3 separate regions of the Homo sapiens genome follow, and all the other regions are linked to region 1. The links are contacts of gene promoters, found by promoter capture Hi-C in blood cells and fetal thymus (Javierre and others, 2016). All regions are on one chromosome and are shown on one strand. The core of a region is centred on a gene start or on the middle of the fragment in contact, and the rest is flanking DNA. Distances in the headings are between cores, read along the strand shown. Region 1 holds the start of GPR148 (G protein-coupled receptor 148). Region 2 overlaps ARHGEF4 (Rho guanine nucleotide exchange factor 4). Region 3 overlaps ARHGEF4 (Rho guanine nucleotide exchange factor 4).

Evidence for each region. The method cuts DNA at HindIII sites, captures the fragments that hold promoters and counts their contacts. A CHiCAGO score of 5 or more calls a contact.
Region 2: a contact is called between a fragment that was not itself captured here and the fragment with the promoter of GPR148 in region 1, in 4 of 17 cell types (non-activated CD4 T cells, total CD8 T cells, naive CD8 T cells and 1 more). The highest score is 5.7, in non-activated CD4 T cells.
Region 3: a contact is called between a fragment that was not itself captured here and the fragment with the promoter of GPR148 in region 1, in 1 of 17 cell types (naive CD4 T cells). The highest score is 6.1, in naive CD4 T cells.

What each region holds. Positions count from the first base shown.
Region 1 is chr2:130,726,614-130,730,915 of GRCh38, reverse strand. It overlaps GPR148 (G protein-coupled receptor 148), which reads right to left and starts at 1,846. Exons shown (of 1, transcript NM_207364.2): 1 at 580-1,846. The coding sequence starts at 1,764. The coding sequence ends at 721. RefSeq lists enhancers at 2,117-2,695, 2,696-3,275, 3,597-4,124 and a silencer at 3,044-3,213. The HindIII fragment of the contact is 6,760 bases long and covers 1-2,648 here.
Region 2 is chr2:130,931,438-130,935,739 of GRCh38, reverse strand. All of the region lies in intron 3 of ARHGEF4 (Rho guanine nucleotide exchange factor 4), which reads right to left. Among named protein-coding and RNA genes, the nearest start is that of ARHGEF4-AS1, 97 kb to the right of the region's middle. The HindIII fragment of the contact is 307 bases long and covers 1,724-2,030 here.
Region 3 is chr2:130,907,249-130,911,550 of GRCh38, reverse strand. All of the region lies in intron 1 of ARHGEF4 (Rho guanine nucleotide exchange factor 4), which reads right to left. Among named protein-coding and RNA genes, the nearest start is that of ARHGEF4-AS1, 72 kb to the right of the region's middle. The HindIII fragment of the contact is 6,101 bases long and covers 1-4,302 here.

The DNA of each region.
Region 1 (4,302 bases), core at 597-3,096:
GGAGAACCACACCAACCACAGACTGAGGTCTTTTTACCACTAACATAATTTGAAGCCTAGCTCTAAAACTGTCTGAAGAGTGGCTTCTACTTAAGAATTCTCGAGGAATTTTCTTCTTCTACACAGCACGAAAGTCAAGGCAGGCAAACTCCCTTGCTGACCCCTTCTGTAAGGTTAGGTTATCATTTACCTTTATTGTGAGAGTGTAACCCTTGCACACTCCAGCTTTATAGTGGTATCTCCATGACACTCTCCACTGCTGTGGATCGTTGGCTTCCTTTCCTCCCTCCCACATCCTGAGCGGCTGCTCAGATAGAGCTCATGGTCCCAGGACTCAGCAGCTCTGCTTGCTTACCTCTGTGGTTCTCACTGTCAGCAACATTTTGGCTTCTGTGTGTTGGTCAGCAAGGATGCATCCACAGTGGCCAGGGAGGGTGTGCAGCAAGCCATTGGAGGGACGCAGATCAAGGCTTGACTTAGACCAGAGCCCTGCTTGATTGCCTTTACTTGCTTCCGTTTCCAAGTAGGATTTCAGTGTCATAAGAGAGCTTTCTCTACTTAAAAACTGTCAAAATGGTGAAAATCATCAGTTGAGGTCTTCTGAAAGGCCCAATTCCACTATTATATTGTGCTGTTCTAAGAAGTTAGTCATAAGTGGACACTGCTGCATTCAACATATGATTTTTAACCTCAGCTTGCCAGACTGTGGACTCAAGAACTCTAGGAAATGGTAAAGATGGCCTGGTGCCTCCTGGATGGGAGGTGGCCCCGGACCATGCCCAACAGCTGCCGGTAGCGGAGCAGGTACAGGTATGTGAGCATGGCACGGGGAAGCATCATGAGTACCTCACTGTTAGCTGCCAGGAGCCATGTGTGAGTCCCAGAGTCAATGTGGTGGTACCTGGTCAGCACCATGTCCAGGGAGAACACCACCCCTGTGCTCACGTACAATGTGATCAGCACTGAGTGGATCAGCAGGGTGCCCCTGGCCCGGGAATAGCCCTGCCCCCAGATGCCTGAAGTCTTGGCCTCTGCATAGATCCTCCAGAAACAGTTGGCAATGAGAGCTGTGCAGAGGAACAGAACGCACAGAATGGAGGTGTAGGTAACAATGACCAGGAGGCCACATCCCGGCTGGGTGCCCATGCTTGGTGGTAGGATGTATGAAGCTCCTTGCTCCTCCAGCTGGGCATCCTGCCACTTGCTGAGCCAAATAAGGAATGTGGGGAAGCAGCAGGCCACCAGCCAGATGAGGGCCACTGCCTTCCAGGCAGCCCCATGGGACATGAAGGAGAGGTAGCGCAGTGGATGGATGACTGCCAGGTAGGTGTGCAGCACAATGGCGGTGAAGGACAGGATGGTGCTGGTGCAGGCGGCGAAGACAGCATCAGTGAGAATGCCACAGGCCATGCGGCCCAGCTCCCAGCCACCCAGGCTGCTGGAGGAGATGAGCATGTGGAGGAGAATGTAGGCCAGGTCTGAGAGCAGGATGTTAGCCGGGAGCAGGTAGTGGGGCTCCTGTCGCAGCCGTTGGTTCCGCAGGATGGTCACCAGCAGCAGGGGGCTGACAGCCAGTGTGGCTGCAGCCAGCAGGCTTGAGGGAAGGAAAAGCCAGTACAGCATGGAGCTGGGCACCCTGAGGTCCCCCAGGCCCAAGGAAGTGTTGCTGGCTGCTTGGGGCATGCAGGGTGTCTTGCTGATGAGCTGGATCAGGGCCGGCCAAGCTGTAGTGCCCACAGGGCAAGGTGCCAGCTCATCCCCCATGCTTCCTGGCAGGGATGGCTGGCTTTGTCACAGGTTGTTGATTCTGCACCTGCCTTGAGTGTTGATCTGCCCCACAGGGGTCCTGATGGCACCACTCCTCTGTAGAGATGCCAGGCTCGGGCAGGCCTTAGGAATGACTGCTTAATAAAGATAAAAAAACCAATGTGAATTCAGACTCACACCTGGCTTCCTGCATTCACATCTCTGCAACTGTGCAGCTGCATGTGCGTGGGTAGACATAACAGATCATCCCACTGCCACCATTTTGCAGTCACTGACCCCTCCAGAAGTGTCCCCTATCTCAGTGGCCCCCAAACCTGTCTGCTTGGCTCACAGGGAGTGTGCAATGGATTCTCACCACACTGGATTATATTCCGGGCTGCCCTCCTAGAAAGGAAGGAGCAGCTGTCTGGAACTAGGATCGCTGGGCTGTAGACCTGGTCTGACCTCTGTCGAGCTAGAGGCTCAGCAAATTGGACCAGGCTGGAGGGGCCTGGGCGCACTCACATTTCCTCACAGAGCCTTGGGTATGGTCTCCAGCTCAGGGTGACCCTGTGCATGCGTGTGAGTGTGACTCCTACACCCCTTCCACTCAGGGCTCCATGTGAGTATTCGGTGCCCCCAAAATCTCAGCTGACTTGTGGGGTCGCTGTGTGGTAGAAACGTCCCTTCCTCTGGGGAGGAGGAGGCCTGGCAGGCAGAGACCTCATAGGAGCTAGTGGGGAGGAATGGAAGGCAGGTTCCCCAGGCACCTGGCTTGTCGGGGGTGGGGTGAGCTCAGTCAGAGCCAGTGGCCAGGGTGGCTGTTGGTGTTTGGGGATCCAGTTCAAGTGAACAAGCTCTCCCGCTCTCTCGAGGTGTTGGCTGCGTGGCCTTGAAAAGCTTTGTTCCAGTTTCCTTATCTGTGAAACACGAATGCCAACCACACTGACCTCAGGGAAACGTTGCGGAAGCCCAGAGGTAAGGGACTCAGCACAGTGCATAGCCTGAAGTAAATGCTGAGTCAATGTTAGCTCTCCCACCTACAGCATCCTCCGAGGCTCGGTCCCCTCTGCCCACAGATCCCTGTCATCACTGCAGAACGGGCTGCACTTGGCTGCTGGCAGCCTGAGACCCCTGCCCAACACCCACCGCCGGCCTGGCAGACTGCTCCAGAAGGCAGGAGCCGCGTGGGAACAGGCAGGATATTTTTAGGGCCAGGAAGAGGCAGAAATTTCAGACTCTGGGTGTGAGACCACGTCCACTGCTGCCCAGGGACCATGCTCGTCACAGCCCGAGACCACGTCCACCGCAGCCCAGGGACCACGCCCAGAACCGCCCCTGACCACGTCCGCCGCAGCCCGGGGACCACGCCCGCCGCAGCCCGGGGCCACGCCCACCACAGCCCCGGACCACCATCATCGCAGCCCTGGGACCACGCCCTCCATAGCCCAAGGCCACGCCCATCACAGCCAAAGACCACGCCCAGAACAGCCCCGGACCACGCCCGCCGCAGCCCGGAACCGCGTCCTCCTCTGAGAGCCTGTTACGCAGCTGCCAGGAGCAGCAGCGCCTGCGCCTTTTTGGCCGATTACGGTACAGAAACTAAAGGTGGTTCTGAGAAAGCCCATCACCCCTTCCAGAGAAACCGCGATGCCATGGGGCGGACCCCGCCTCCCTGCCCCAGCTGCCCTGGCCTGCACTCCCTAGGGGCCCCTTGTACTTTACAGATGCTCTGACCGGTCTAATCGGCCCCAGGCCGGGAGAGGCAGCAGAGCCATTCGCAGGCCACGCTCTCTGCGCGGGTGCCCTGTGTGCTGCAGGGCTGAGGGCCAAGGCCGAGCCTCTCTCTGCTGTCCAGCCCAGCACAACGACCCTCGCCGGCCTTTGGGGTCTTAGAATGCAGATTCCCTGGGAGAGGGAAACTCGTTAAATGACAATCCCTCAGTAAAAATGTGGTTGTGAGCTAAATCCTTATAGCCGGTGACGGGGTGACAAGCAGCAACTTCATGGAATCGGAAAGCGCGAAACTCCCAAGGTGAAAAAGCCGCTGGGATGATACAGAGCCTGCCTCCTGCTGAGAATCATCTTAGGAATTAAATAGCCCATACAACAATCTCAGAGCACCGAGCGGGTGCTGCCCCTAAGGGAACATCAGTTTGGTCTCACTTGCCGAGGTTCCCTATCCAGGCTGCCCTCCTGGGAAAATGCAGTCCGGGGCCCTAGGGAGTGCAGCCCAGGGCGCGGGGACAGGGAGGCGGGGTCCGCCCTATGGCATCGCGGTTTCTCCGAAAGGGAAGATGGGCTTTCTCAGAACCACCCTTAGTTTCTACACTGTAATCAACCCCAGATGTGGGGTCACCCAGTGCCAGCTCTGGGGTCACAGAGCTGGCCTCCCTGGTTAGGACCCTGCAGCCTTTAACTCCTTTGCCCCGTTCCTGTAATCATTATGGGTCAGGACGGGCCTGCTGGCCTTGGGTGCAGACGCGGGGTGGGTGTGCAGCACAGGCTAGTGAATCTGAACATAACTTTGGAAGTTGAATCTCAGCCATCCGTGGC
Region 2 (4,302 bases), core at 628-3,127, 200 kb before region 1:
GCAATGTAATGACACTAGATGTCAATAGGAGAATGGAAAATTCACAAATATATGGAAATTAATACAATATTAAACAGCCAGTGAGTCAAAGAAGAAATCATAAGATTTCACAAGAAAGAAAAGAAGAAATCACAAAATTAGAAAATACTGTGAGATGAATGAAAACAAAAACACAACCTATCAATGCTTATGGATGCAGTGAACGCTATGCTGAGAGGGAACTTTCTAGTTGTAAAAGCCTAAATTAAAAAAGAATTTCTCAAATCAATAGTCCAATTTTACATTTTTAGTCTAATTTAACAAGAAAAAGAAGCACAAACTAACCCCAAAGCTAATAGATGGAAGAAAATAATAAAGATGAAAGTAGAGACACATTAAATATAGTAATAGAAAAACAATAGAGGCCAGGTGCAGTGGCTCATGCCTGTAATCCCAGCACTTTGGGAGGCTGAGGTGGGCAAACCACTTGAGCCCAGGAGTTGGAGACCAGCCTGGGCAACATGGTGAAACCCTGTTTCTACCAAAAATACCAAATACCAGTCCCATAACTCAGTCTCTAAATAAATAAATAAATGAATAAATAGATAAAAAATTAAAAATGGGATAAAAATAAGAAAAATAATAGAGAAAATCAAGACAACCAAAAACAGATTCTATGAAAAGACTAATAAAATTGATAAGCATTTAGCTACACTGAGGAAAAAAAGAGAGAAAATACAAATTACTAAAATTAGAAATGAGAGTGGAGGCATTACTACTGATGTTACAGAAATTTAAAAGGATTATAAGAAAACACTATGGACAATTGTATATCAACAGATTAGATAATGTAGATAAAATGGAGAAATTCTTAAGAAAAACACAAGCCAAATGACTCAATAAGAAATACAAACTTTGGCCGGGTACAGTGGCTCATGCCTGTTATCCCAGCACTTTGGGAGGCTGAGGCGGGCAGATCACTTGAAGTCAAGAGTTCGAGACCAGCCTGGCCAACATGGTGAAACCCTGTCTCTATCAAAAAATACAAAAATTAACCATGCATGGCAGTGCATGCCTGGAGTCCCAGGTACTCAGGAGGCTGAAGCAGGAGAATCACCTGAACCCAGGAGGTGGAGGTTGCAGTGAGTCAAGATCATGCTGCTGCACTCTAGCCTGGGTAACAGAGTGAGACTCCATCTCAAAACAAAACAAAACAAGAAGAAATATAAACTCTTAACAGGTCTATGACAAGTAAAGAATTGTTTTTTCACCAACCTGACACTAAAAGAAAAGAAAAAAGAATTGAATCAGTAATCAGAAACCCCACAACAAAGAAAAGCCCAGGACCAGAAAGCTTCACTGGTGAACTATACAAGATATTTAAAGAAGAATCTTTCTCAAATGCTTTCAAAAAATAGAAGAGGAGAGAGCACTTCCTAACTCATTCTATAAGACCAGAATCACTCTGATACCAAAGCCAGAGAAAAACATCACAAGAAAAGAAAACTGCAGATGAATACATATTCAATGTAATATACCACATTAATAGGTCAAAGAAAACATGCATGATTATCTCAGTTGATGCAGAAAAACCGTCATCAAAATTGATCATGCACTTAAAAAATCCAGCACCCTTTCATGATAAAAACACTAGAAATAGAAACGAACTTCCTTAACATGATAAAACGGCATTTGTGAAAAACACACAGCTAACATCATACACAATAGTGAAAGACTGAAAGCTTTAATCCTAAAACCAAGAAGACAACGACACCCCATTTCACCACTTCTGCTCAACATTGTTATGTAAGTTCTACCCAGAGCAAGTAAGGGATAAAAGAGAAATCAAAGGCATCTAAACTGGAATGGAAGAAGTAAAGTAATCTATTTTTATAAATGATGTAATCTTATACATAGAAATTTCCAAAGAATCCACAAAAATATTATTATAGCTAATAAATGAATTCAGCAACGTTTCAGGATATAGGATCAATAAACAAAAATCAATTGTATTTTTATGCTCTAGCAATGGATAATCCCAAAATGAAGCTTTTAAAAATTTCCATTTATGATGTCATCAAAAAGAACAAAATACTTAGGAAACATTTTAACCAAGGATGTGCAAGACTTTTTACAGTGAAAACTACAAAACACTGCTGAAAGCAATTCAAGAACACCTCCCAAAAACGGAAAGACACCCAGTGTTCATGGATTTGAAGACTTAATATTATTAATATGGCACTACTCTCCCAAGTGATCTACAGATCGAATGCAATCCTATGGAAATCCCAAGGGCCTTTATTTTTTTGCAGAATTGGAAATTATAAGATTCATATGAAATTGCAAGGTCCAACAAAAAGCCAAAACAATTTTGAAAAAGAACAAAGAAGACTCTCACATTCCAATTTCAAAACTTATTATAAAACTATGATAATCAAAACAATGTGGTACTGACATAAAGACAGACATATAAGTTAATAGGATAGAATTGAGAGTCAAAAATACACCCACACATCTAAGGTAATTTGACTTTTTTTTTTTTTTTTGAGACAGGGTCTCACTCTGTCACCCAGGCTGGAGTGCAGTGGTGCAGTCTTGGCTCACTGTGACCTCTGCCTCCCAGGTTCAAGTGATTCTCCCACCTCAACCTCCCGAGTAGCTGGGAGTACAGGTGCGTGCTACCACACTGGCTAATTTTTGTATTTTTAGTAGAAACAGGGTTTCACCATGTTGTCCAGGCTGACGTCGAACTTCTGGCCTTAAGTGATCCACCGCCTCGGCTTCCCCAAGTGCTGGGATTACAGATGTGAGCCATTGCGCCTGGCGGGTAAGTTGGTTTTTGACAAGGATGCCAAGACCATTCAGTAAGGGACAGAATAGTCTCTTCAACACATGGTGTTTGGGTAACTACATATCCGCATGGAAAATATTAAAATTGGACCTCTATCTCATACCATACAAAAATTAAATCAAAATGGATCAAAGACCTAAATTTAAAAGCGAAAGGTATAAAACTCTTAGAAAAAAACAGAGGTAAATTTCATTACTTGGATTTGGCAATAGATTCTTAGGTATGACATCAAATGCACAAGCAACAAAAAAAAATAGATAAAGTAGATTTCATCAAAATTAAGTACTTATGCATCAATGGGTACTATCAAAAAAGTGAAAGGCACTCTACAGATGGGAGAAAATATTTGCAAATGACATATCTTATAATGGTCTTACATTCAGAATATGTAAAGGATTCCAGGCCAGGCGCGGTGGCTCATGCCTGTAATCCCAGCACTTTGGGAGGCCAAGGCCAGTGGATCACTTGAGGCCAGGAGTTCGAGACCAGCCTGGCCAACATGGTGAAACTCCATCTTTACTAAAAATACAAAAATTAGGTGGGCATGGTGGCAGGCACCTGTAATCCCAGCTACTCAGAAATGGATGAAGAGCTACTCAGGAATGGATGTATGGATGAACAAAGTGAGACAAGTACTGTATAATCACATAACGAAATGTTACTTAGCCATACAAAGAAATGAAGTATTGATATGTGCTATGACATGGATAAAACACGACGCTAAGTGAAAAACGCCAGTCACAAAAGGTCACGTATCATGTAATTACATTTATATGAAAAATCCAGAATAGGAAGACCCATAGAGACAGGAAGCAGATGAGTATTTCCAGGGTCTGGGGAGGGGAAATGGGGAATAGGGTTTCCTTTAGGGGTGATGAAAATGCCTTGGAGCTGGACAGAGGTGGTGGTCGCAAAATATAGTGAATGAATATACTAAATGCCAATGAATTCTTCACTTTAACATGGTTAATTCTACATTATGTGAATTTCACCTCAGTTTTAAAAAGTGAGTCTTCAAGGATGAGGTGAGACTCAGAGATGTGTACTTCACAAACACTTGATATTAAATATTGCTATTTATAAAGGGAAAAAACAAGAAACTCTTGTCAGAGATTGGGTAAATGGCATGATGTCTACACCATTAATTTACTTTTTAGTAGGCTGTCGGTTTCATGCAAAAAATCATGTTGTCAAAGTGTCCTAGAGACAAAATTGAATGGACAACATAATGACTTTAGTTAATTTGGTTAAGATTGTCTTATTGAAATGTTCTGTGCCTCTGTGAGTGGCAGAGCCAATGCTAGGGCAGTGTCTAATCATGTCGGGCACACAGCAGGCACTCATTAAATGGCAGTCTTCTCTGCACTACTACCTTGCATGGAGCTGGCCACAGGCAGAGACATACTACAGAGAAGGAAGAGGGGGCCCTGGCTTCTGTGGCTCTGGGGAATGCACTGCTCAAAGTGTCTCTC
Region 3 (4,302 bases), core at 729-3,228, 180 kb before region 1:
TTGAATATTGGATTCTAATCTTATAAAGACTTTCTTCCTGAGTTGATTCAGGAGCGATCCCCAAATAATTTCTCAGCATAAAGTGATGTAAGTCCAGGGTTATGTCCTGGGAATGGCCTGGGGCTGGAATCTAGACCAAACAAGTATTCTTTCTGCGGAGGCTCAGGGTTTTTACAGGGGTGGGAGTGGGTTAAATTTGAAAGTCTGAAGCAGGCAGGCTCCATTTTGCCACAGGCCTGGCACTTCCCAACTGTCTTATTCTATAACTAGATGAGGCTTTAGGGCAAGATGCTGAGCCTGTCTCCTGTAAGAAACAGCTGCAGTGAGTGTTCCACAGCAGGGTGAACTGCTGACTACCAGCCCATCAGGAGGGGAGGATGGTGTTGACCGGCAGGCCCCACATCCCACCTCCTCCTCCTGACCTCACCGCTTCCCTGCCCGCTGCCCCGACGTTGGCCGAAACCTTCAGTGGAGCTAGCCTCTCCCCACCTCTCCTCTGCCCTCTGCAAACTCCTCAATAACACAGTTTACATTTAATATGCACACTTTCCTATGTGTCATTCACTTTTTAGAGAATATTAGTATGTGAGGACACAGTGTCCCTTCTAAAAACCACTAGTTTTAATCTGTGGTATGTCCATTATCTTGGCAATCCTAATTTTTAAAATAAGCTCATTATAATTTCCTTTTTGACCTGTGACTTATTAGAAGTATGTGTTAGTTATCTGTTTCTGATTTCTATTTAATGACACTGTCATCAAAGAGTCATCTGTGTGATACTGATTTTTTGAAGTTAGTTGAAACTGGCTTTATGACATAGTACAAGGTCCTACTTTGGAGATGTCCCATGGGCGTTTGAAAGGATAGTGCATTCTCTAATGGGTCGGTGCAGTGTTAACAAGGGCTCATTAGATCAGCCTTGTTGACTGTTTAAATCCTCGGAAGTCTTACTAGTTTTTCCTCTGTGATTAGGAGAAGCATGTGGAAACCTCCCACTGTCCTAGTGGATTTGTCAGTTTCCTCTTTTAATTCTGTTACAGTTCAGCCTTATGTGAGCAGGTGCATAAACAAGTTCAGAACTGTTACATCTTCCTATGAGTGGCTCCTTTATTACCAGTGGTAATAAAGGCTTTTTTACTTTCTTATCCCTAAGAAAGACTTTTCCTTTAAAGGCCATCCTCTGATATTAATATACCCACACCAGCATTCTTTTGGTTAGTATTTGCCAACCATGTATTTTTTCCATCCTTTTATTTTCAATCTTTCAATGTTCTTTAGGTGTGCTTTTCATAACCAACATATAGCTGGACTTTCCAAATTGAATCTTTCAGGCACTTTTTTTTATTATTATACCTTAAGTTCTGGGGTACATGTGCAGAATGTGCAGGTTTGTTACATAGGTAATTACGTACCATGGTGGTTTGCTGCACCCATCAACCCGTCACCTACATTAGGTATTTCTCCTAATGCTATCCCTCCCCTAACCCCACCCCCAGACAGGCCCTGCTTTCAGTCACTTTTAACCAGCGTGTGGCTCATGAGTGTTTCTGTGATCACTGCTCTCTCTGGGGTTCTACCTCCCACTGAATTCCATACTTTTTGAACTCTTCCTTCTTTTTTTGTCCTGGGAATTTCTTTTGTGTGTGTGAACTCAACTAAAGATTGTTTAGGATGATATGTTTTACTTCTAGGTTTAGCTTTTGTTATGAGGAGCTTTTCGGGAAATGTGTAGTGGGCCGTGATTCTGGAATCAGAAGTTCTGGACACTGCTCCCAGGGTCTGGCTGCCACCCCGCCCAGCCCTGAATCAGCCAGCAGAGGCGCCTGTGACACTGCCAAATGCAAGGGTCTTTGTTTTATTTTCTTTGTATTACTGCTATTTACTTTTTTTTTTTACAACTTTATTGATGTATAATTGTCATAAAAAAGCCACACATATTTCAAGTGTACAGTCAAAGTTTTGACACACATCTGTGAAACCATGACCACCATCAATATGATGACCGTTGATCTCTTTCCCTTCTGCCTCTCCTCACTCCTCCCTCAACACCCTCTCCTTCCCCAGGCAACCTTTATCTGCTTTTTGCCTTTTCTAGAATTTCATATAAATGGAACCATGCGGTATGTCTTCTTTTTATCTGGTCTTTCCCACTTAGCATGATTATTTTGAAATGCACCCATGTTTTGTTGCATGTGACAGGAATTCATTCCTTCTATTGCTGACCCGTGTTCCACAGTGCAGCTATAAGGCAATTTGTTATCTATTCACCTGCTGATGGACATTTGGGTTGTTCCCAGTTTCCGGCTTCTCACATAAAGCTGCAGTGAACATCCATGTACAGGTCTTTATATGGACATGTGCTTTCATTTGTCCTGGATAAATACCGAGGAGTGGGATGACGCTGTATCAGATACACAGGGTAGGGGCATGCGTTCAACTGCTCAAGAACCTGCTCTCCATTCCCTTCCTCACTCCCCACAATGTATGAGGTCCTGCTGCTCCACAACCTCCCCAGCACCTGGTACCACCAGCCTTGTTCATGTTAATCCTCCCAGTGTCTGTGAAGCGGTATCTCCTTGCAATCTGGATTTGTGTTTCCCTCAGGGCATATGATGTTGAGCATCTTCTCATGTTTTTTCCATCTGTACATCTTTTCTGGTGACGTGTCTTCAAGTCTTTTGCCCATGTTTAAAAACTGGATTGTGTTCTTACTATTGAGTTGTAAGGATTCTTTGTATACCTTATATATAAGTCTTTTGTCAGATATATGTTTTCCAAACAGTTTCTTCCAGTCTGTGGCTTGCCTTTTCATTTTATTACCAAGGCCTTTTAAAGAGTAAAACTTTTTTTTTTAAATTTTATTATTACTATTTTTTTAGATGGAGCTCGCACTGTCGCCTGGGCTGGAGTGCAATGGCGCAATCTCAGCTCACTCCAACGTCCACCTCCCGGGTTCAAGTGATTCTCCTGCCTCAGCCTCCCAAGTAGCTGGGATGACAGGCTCCCGCCACCATGCCCAGCTAATTTTTCATATTTCTAGTAGAGACAAGGTTTCACTATGTTGGCCAGGCTGGTCTTGAACTCCTGACCTCGTGATCCACCCGCCTCGGCCTCCCAAAGTGCTGGGATTACAGGCGTGAGCCACCACGCCTGGCCAGAAGACATGGTTCTTATGCCTAGAAAAATCCCACAGTCTCTGCCCAAAGGCTCTTAGAACTGATAAACAACTTCAGCAAAGTTTCAGGATGCAAAATCAATGTAGAAAAACCAGTAGCATTTCTATACACTGACAATGTCTAAACTGAGAGTCAAGTCAATAATGTGATCCCTTTCAAAACACCACAAAAAGAATATAATATCTAGGAATACAGCTAACCTGGGAGCCAAAAGATCTCTACAGTGAGAATTACAAAATACTGCTGAAAAAAATCAGAGATGACACAAACAAATGGAAAAACATTCCATGCTCATGGATAGGAAGTTTATCATAAAACTAAACATATGACCAAGCAAATCCACTTTTAGATACTTACCAAAGTGAATGGAAAAATTATACTCACACGAAAGCCAGTATGTAAATTTTTTTTTTTTTTTGAGACAGAGTCTTGCTTTGTCTCCCAGGCTGGAGTGCAGTGGTGTGATCTCGGCTCACTGCAACCTCCGCCCTCCCAGTTTCAAGCAATTCTCCTGCCTCAGCCTCCCGAGTAGCTGGGACTATAGGTGCATGCCACCACGCCTGGCTAATTTTTTGTACGTTTAGTAGAGATGGGGTTTCACCATGTTATTAGCCAGGATCGTCTCGATCTCCTGACTTCGTGATCTGCCTGCCTTGGCCTCCCAAAGTGCTGGGATTACAGGCGTGGGCCACCGCACCTGGACTCAATATACAAAATTTTATAGCTAGAACATACCAGTCATAATCTCCACAATCAGAAAACAACCCAGATGTCCTTCAGCAGTTGAATGGATAAACAAATTAACCATGCATCCATATCCATACAATAATACAACTCAGCAATAAAAAGGGACAAACTGACTGGGCATGGTGGCTCATGCCTGTAATCCCAGCACTTTGGGACGCTGAGGTGGGCGGATCACGAGGTCAGGAGATCGAGACCATCCTGGCTAACATGGTGAAACCCGTCTCTACTAAAAAATACAAAAAAATATTAGTTGAGCATGGTGGCAGGCGCCTGTAGTCCCAGCTACTCAGGAGGCTGAGGCAGGAGAATGGCGTGAACCCAGGAGGCGGAGCTTGCAGTGAGCCCAGATCGTGCCACTGCACTCCAGCCTCCAGTCTCC